2 separate regions of the Homo sapiens genome follow, and region 1 is linked to region 2. The links are contacts of gene promoters, found by promoter capture Hi-C in blood cells and fetal thymus (Javierre and others, 2016). All regions are on one chromosome and are shown on one strand. Each heading gives the region's core, a stretch centred on a gene start or on the middle of the fragment in contact. The rest is flanking DNA. Distances are from core to core; before and after follow the strand shown. Region 1 has its middle 45 kb from the start of THBS1. Region 2 holds the start of LINC02915 (long intergenic non-protein coding RNA 2915).

Evidence for each region. Contacts are between HindIII fragments. The CHiCAGO score rates a contact against its expected background, and 5 or more counts as called.
Region 1: a contact is called between a fragment that was not itself captured here and the fragment with the promoter of LINC02915 in region 2, in 1 of 17 cell types (monocytes). The highest score is 5.5, in monocytes.

Annotation. Positions count from the first base shown.
Region 1 is chr15:39,534,628-39,537,755 of GRCh38, reverse strand. No RefSeq gene overlaps it. Among named protein-coding and RNA genes, the nearest start is that of THBS1, 45 kb to the left of the region's middle. The HindIII fragment of the contact is 935 bases long and covers 911-1,845 here.
Region 2 is chr15:39,249,141-39,252,233 of GRCh38, reverse strand. LINC02915 (long intergenic non-protein coding RNA 2915) reads right to left here and starts at 1,565. Exons shown (of 2, transcript NR_144508.1): 1 at 1,371-1,565; 2 at 1-175. All of the region lies in intron 1 of LOC105370777 (a long non-coding RNA gene), which reads left to right. The HindIII fragment of the contact is 11,359 bases long and covers 1-3,093 here.

The DNA.
Region 1 (3,128 bases), core at 129-2,628, 290 kb before region 2:
GCCCATGGAGGTACAAGGTGCCATACCAAGGTACAAGGATGCAAAGGTCAGGGGCAAGGTTGGATCAGGGACCGTGATTATATATCCAAGGTGGCTGGAGGGAGTTTGCAAATCATCATTGTGCCGTGAATGGGGAGAGAGAGGGTAGTAAGAGTCAAAACTGGAGTTGTATCTAATGTCATGTTCAAGGGCATGGCAAAACCTTAACAGGGAAGGTGGAGTATCAGAAGATGAGACTAGGAACAGGGCAAGAAGCTGAATGTGAGTCCCAGAAGCTTCAAGGTGAGAACTAATGCTGTGAGGGGAACAGGGGGGCTGCGATGTATTTTCAGATGGTGTGAATTGCATAGAACATGGTCAGGCCTGCTGGAAAAAGGGGCCATGCAGAAAGAATTATGAGGGCTTTAAATCACTTAGTCTCGACCCTCTGCCTACTCTGTGAGCTTTTTCCTGGCTGCACAGGACCCACTTTGTACTCTAGATTGCAGTCAACTGCTTCAATATTATCCAGTATTTGGGCTTACTTAAATAGCCAAGTTTTCTAAAGTGCTTTATGATTATATCGTAAGCTCTTTGACAACAGAGCTGTGTCGTCTTTAGAATTTCTCATAGAACCTAGCATCATCTTTGCTGGAATAATAGATGTAGAGCAATTGAAGTATGGCTTCCTTGCAGCACCTACGCTTACCATAGTTTCTGTTGAGGCAAGGTAAAATTCCCTAATGCACCCATGCTTCTAAAGGACTCTGCCCATTACCTGTAGATTTGGAGGGGCCAGGCCCCTTGCTTAGGCTTATGCCTTGTTTTCCTACGTGTAATACGAACCTTATGCATTTAGGGTTTACCTGGTATGTACCATCTGCCATACTATTGTGTGTGCCATCTGCCAGATCATGGGCTTCCAGAAGCTTCTCTGAGGCTTGTTCACTGTAATGACTCGCTTGTGCCTTGAACATGTGCTTCCTTTGGGCCTCCCAACCTAGCCTTTAAGCTGTGAGTATGTTCATGTTCATTTCTCTAGACTCTGATCTTAAATTTGTCCTCAGGACTTTGAGCAAGCACATTTTCTCTAGAAATTACCTTGGCCAATGTCTCCAGTCTAACCGATCTTGTTCTACATCAGTGTCTCTCAAATGGCAATCCAGAGTCCATCTACATTAGAATCAGCTGGAAAAACTGGAAACATGCAGATTCCTGCCTGCTGGATCAGAATCTAGGGCTGAGCTAGAATCTGCCTTTTAACAAGTTTTCCAATGGATTGCTGATACACCCTAAAGGTGTATCATCTGTTGAATGACCATCTGTTCAGTCCTACCCAGTTGGTGTGGCTCTAAGACATTGCCCTCTGTGTATCCTGTGTTTCTGCTACTCAGGACCTGGCTGCTGAATGCCTTCACCGTGGTGCATCAGACCCCACTGCTCACACCCAAAAGTAGGGCTCCAACCCTGTCGGGCGCCTCTCACCTCTGGTCTCGTGATCTGTCCTCAGCCACCCTTCAGGGACTCCCTGTTCTTAAATGTGCGTCAGCTGCTCCCAGAGAGTCTGAGAGCCACACTAGACCTGCAATGCCTCGTCCATGGCTTTCTTTCCACTGAAAAGAGGATGGACTCTTATTAGGTACAACAGGGTAACTGAAAACAGGTTGAAGTTTCTGCAGCTTCAGTCACAAGTGGGAAAAATTTCTAGTGTCCATTTCCAAATCAAGTAGTAGGGGGAACTGGTAACTCAGCAGCCCAGTTGTTGAATGGGAGAGCAAATAAAGCAGCCTCCTCATGTTTCTGCTTGCTTTTGTGATTTTAAAAGGACAATAAAATGTAGAGATTATAAAATAGTAAAGGCAAGCTTTGTAAAGGCCTTCCCAATGTGAAAGAACTTTTACTATCTTTCATTCCGACCAGGTCTTAGCACAGGAAGCAGGATGCGAGCAAGGCCGGGACCTCTTCTGGGATTTCTGCTCGGGCTGGGCTCAGCCACAGGTCAGAGGTGGGAAGCGTCCCCTCCACTGCCTGGAGAGGGGAGAACAGACCCCTCTGTCAGTTCCTGCTGATAATAACGCAGCCTGCGTGGGCAGACATTGTGCATCCCCTGGCTGGATAGAACACGTGTCTCAATGCCTTTCTTGTTCTTCACCTTTGTGTAGCATGTGGCTTGGCAGGCGAGAGGGGATTAGGAGGCCTGTTGACAGAAATCCTGGTAGAATTCCATGTTTGAGAAACCCATCCAAAGGCGATAGCTTTGGGGCTTCATTAGGGTGGTTATCAGATCCAAAAGTGTTTTCCAGAGTGTGGACCCCTCCCTCCATGTTCCTGTTCTTATCTCTCTAATCTCATGAAAGTGGGGAAGGGCTAGAAACTCTTTCTCAAAAGAGACTTACGAGAAATAGCTCCCAGACTAAACTCTTTGCTCTGTGTTCACTCATGTACTTGTTTTTCAAAGCTTGCCAATTAAAAGAAAGAAAATTGTATGTGTTCAGACAAGTAGGGACCCACAGGCTGATGCGGTCAGAGGGCCACTGATGCTGAGGTTGCTCAGAGACTGGGAAGGTGGCTCAGGATGGGGTGAGCCCCTATTTCTCAGAGGTGCTGGCCTGGCCTATTTACTCCAGAACACTTAGGCCCTTAGAGGCCACGATTTCGGGGCTGCTGTGACAAATAGCCTTGGAAAGGTCATGCAGATGCATCAGTGGCATGCAGAACCTGCCATGAGTCTTGAATATAGTTGGTCTTCAAAATGTGATTGCCGAATATATAACATTGCCTTTTAGCGGGCTTTTTGTTTTATTAACCAATGCAGAACTATGCCTTTGTTTCATTCATTCTTATGTAATGGCAAACATAAAAAAATAGGTGTCTTACTCTATCTTGCTCCTAATATTGAGTCAGAGGAACTCCAAGATCAAGGTCTCTCAAAAGAGTGGTTCCCCCAGGTTCATGGACATGTTATTTCTGTGCACAAAATGAATTAATGAATGTGCATAAGACAAGGCCAGCTATCTAGAGAGTATTACCTTGTTCCTCACAAGCTTTCTTTTGACTTTTGAAAAACATGCTGCTTGTCTTGTAAGCAGTAAGTACTCATTCTCCTCTACAAAGGAAGCTTTAAAAACTGGCTAGCCTCAAGGTGGTTT
Region 2 (3,093 bases), core at 316-2,815:
GGCCATGGAGTTAGCCATAAGGCTCTGCAAATTCTTTGCGGCTCAGCCCTCTGGGGTCTCCTGCCACCGTGCTTGCCAGTAATGAATTTCACTTCCATGTGGGATCTTTCAGGTCTTCTTGACACACTGAAGCCATATGTGTTTCAGCCACTTCAGACATCATCCTGCTCTTTAACTTGAAGAACAGTCTAAGTCAGTGAGGTTTGCCATGGCATCAAATCTCCTTTTAAACCCACACCGCTTGAATAATAACTATGATTCTGGATAGTTGACTCATGAATATTTCCTGCGAAGGAACAATGAGGGTATTCTGAGGAAATTAAATCCATACAAGTAATTCCCAAACTTTATTCATGTTTGAATACTTTCTAACTTCAAATGTTTTTACCAGACTGGTAACACATAGCAAAATCAACTGATAAGATTGTCCTTTTTTCTTTCTTCCTCTTCCTCTACCTAACACTTCTCTAGTGTGGTACTAACTGGAGAAGGCACAAAGAGTAAGTAGATAGAAAGGGAAATGAAAAGTCAAAGAGCCCTACACTTTTTTTTCCCCCCTCTCTCCTGGTAGTCCTACTTCAAAGGCAGTGTAGCTTTCTCAGAAAGGCCAACCCACACTCAGAGGGTGAAGTTGGAAAACCCCAGCAACCCTATGATACACAATAAACCCATGTAAGGAGGTGGTCCCTTACAAACAGTTGGCTATGAATATCTTCTTTCAAATAGTCTGACACTCGTGGCATAATTATTTTTGTAAGAGTCCTCAGGAAAGTCTGTTTTGAAATACTGCATAGCTTAAGACTACAATAGTACCTTGCATAGTTCAATGTAAACATATCCAGGTGGCTTGTGAAGAAGAGAGGAAGCCAGAGGTGATGCTTCTCTATAGGAAAATGACACTGCAGCCAGCCCCCCGAATCCTGAGAAGACCCTAAATACACCACTCCCCCTCCCCGACAACTACCCAAGTGATATCCTGTGAGTGACTGGATTCTAATCTATCGAATAGTTTCTGTACATGAAAAAAAAATCAATTTTGGAATAAGAGTTGCCAGCAGAAAGATTTCCATTTATTAGGCACCTACCAGGTGCCTGATTCTATTGGGTACATTAAAGATATTCTTTCATTTAGTTCTCACCTGGAAACTCTCAAGGCTTGTTCACATTTTACTGATGAGAGAAATAAGGCACAAGAAGATTAAACAAACAATCCAGGCCAACTCAAGTGGAGGGATGTGTGGTTGAGTTCAGGTCTGCCTGTAAATCGCTTGAGGCCAGAAACTTTTCTCTATTTTGTTCACTGATGTGTCCCAAGTGCCCAGAAGAATGCCTGGCAAATTGTAGCTGCTTAGTAAATATTGAATGATTACCTTAATGAGAGAATCCAGCACGTGTACTCCTAAGTATTATTCTCTACAGTTTCTCCTCAGTCTCCTCACTCCAGTCTGTTACCTGCCCCTTTCTCCCATCCCATTTCAAAGGGAAATGGAGCCCAGAGCTGCAGTGGATGCTGTAGAAAGTTATATCTCTGTGTACATCCTGCTGAAGGAATGGAGCGATTGTCAGGGAGCTGTGTCATTGAGTCTGAGGCCTTACTTCCTTGCTCTCCCCCTTCTATTTCCTGCTTCCTCCCACAAAGATTTTCTGAGTCCTTGCTGTGTGCTGAGCACTGGAGACTCACTATGAACAAAGTTGGTATGGTCCCTGTCCTTATGCAAATTATTGAATAAATTATAGGTACGGTGAGTGTTTTGACAGAGAGGTAAGAATGTTATAGAAACATATAACAAGAGGACTCAGACCTATTCTTTGAGGTCAGGAAAGACATCTTTGCAAATTTTAACTTTAAGACAAGATATTAAGGATAATTAAGAGTTCCTAATGTATACCTTGGGTTTCCTGGATGTCTCTGCCTAAGACACTTTTAGGGAGGAGTTAAGACTGTTTTCCTATAATACTAAGAAGTCATTTGCCTTTTCATTCTTATTGCATTACAAGTGTACAATGGAGTTTTACAGAAGCTGCATAACATAGATTTCACAACAGATTGAATGCAGAAGCAGACATGAGAATCCATTTATCCTTTAGTAAGCCAGATATTGGTAAGATTTGCAAAAAATGCATAACAGCACTACTAGTCTCACTCATGTATTTTTGGTTTTGGAAAACGTGGCTATGTTTTCATAAAATGTTATTTATGTTAAGGTATAATCAGTTTACTATGTTGTTTTAAAATGAATTAAATATTTAAAAAAGAATTGGTTCTAATTTGCAACATGATATAATGATATAATCTACCTTTTTTAAAATGAAAAGGTCTTTGGGGTTCTTCAGAAGATTTGAGAGCACAAAGGGGCCGAGCCCCAAAAGTTTGCGAATGGCTGAGCTAAGAGAAGAGGAGGAGGGAGTGTTCCACAGTGAATAAACAGCCTGTGTAAAAGCCCTTCCCTGGTATACGACTTGTAGTTTTGAGGATATTAAAGAAGTCCAATGTGGTTGGAACATAGAAAGTGATGGAGAGAGAATATAATATGCAGAACAATGGGTAAGCAGTGCCATATTTGAGAGCAATGACTTAATCTTAGGTCAGTGGGAAGTCACTGAAGGGTTTTAAGCAGGTTGGAATTGATGAGATACATGTTGAGAGAGGAAGGAAAAGGAAAGAAGAAAGGAAAAGAATGGGGGGACACAGAGAAGGGAGGTCAGGAGGCTTTTGGGGAAAACTTAGTAAGCTATGAGGGAGGGACAGTAGGGCTGGATAGAAGAGGATAGATGTAAATAATATTATGGAGAATCTAGAGGACTTGGGTTTGATTGTCAGTAGAGAGTGACTTGTTTTGTAAAAGAAGGAATGAATTTTCTCATGGTTTTTTAGTCATACCACTTGATTTTAAATTCTAGCGCTAATTCTGTGACTGTGAGCAAATTATTTAAACTCCATAAGCTACAATTTTCTCATCTGTAAAAAAAACAGGAACAAGAGCCACAATTTCATATGGTTGTTGAAGTTATTTTAAAATGCACACATATCTAATATAACTGGATTATCGTAATTATTTATTTGTTTCCCTTACCTTCTCTTTAACTCTCTTT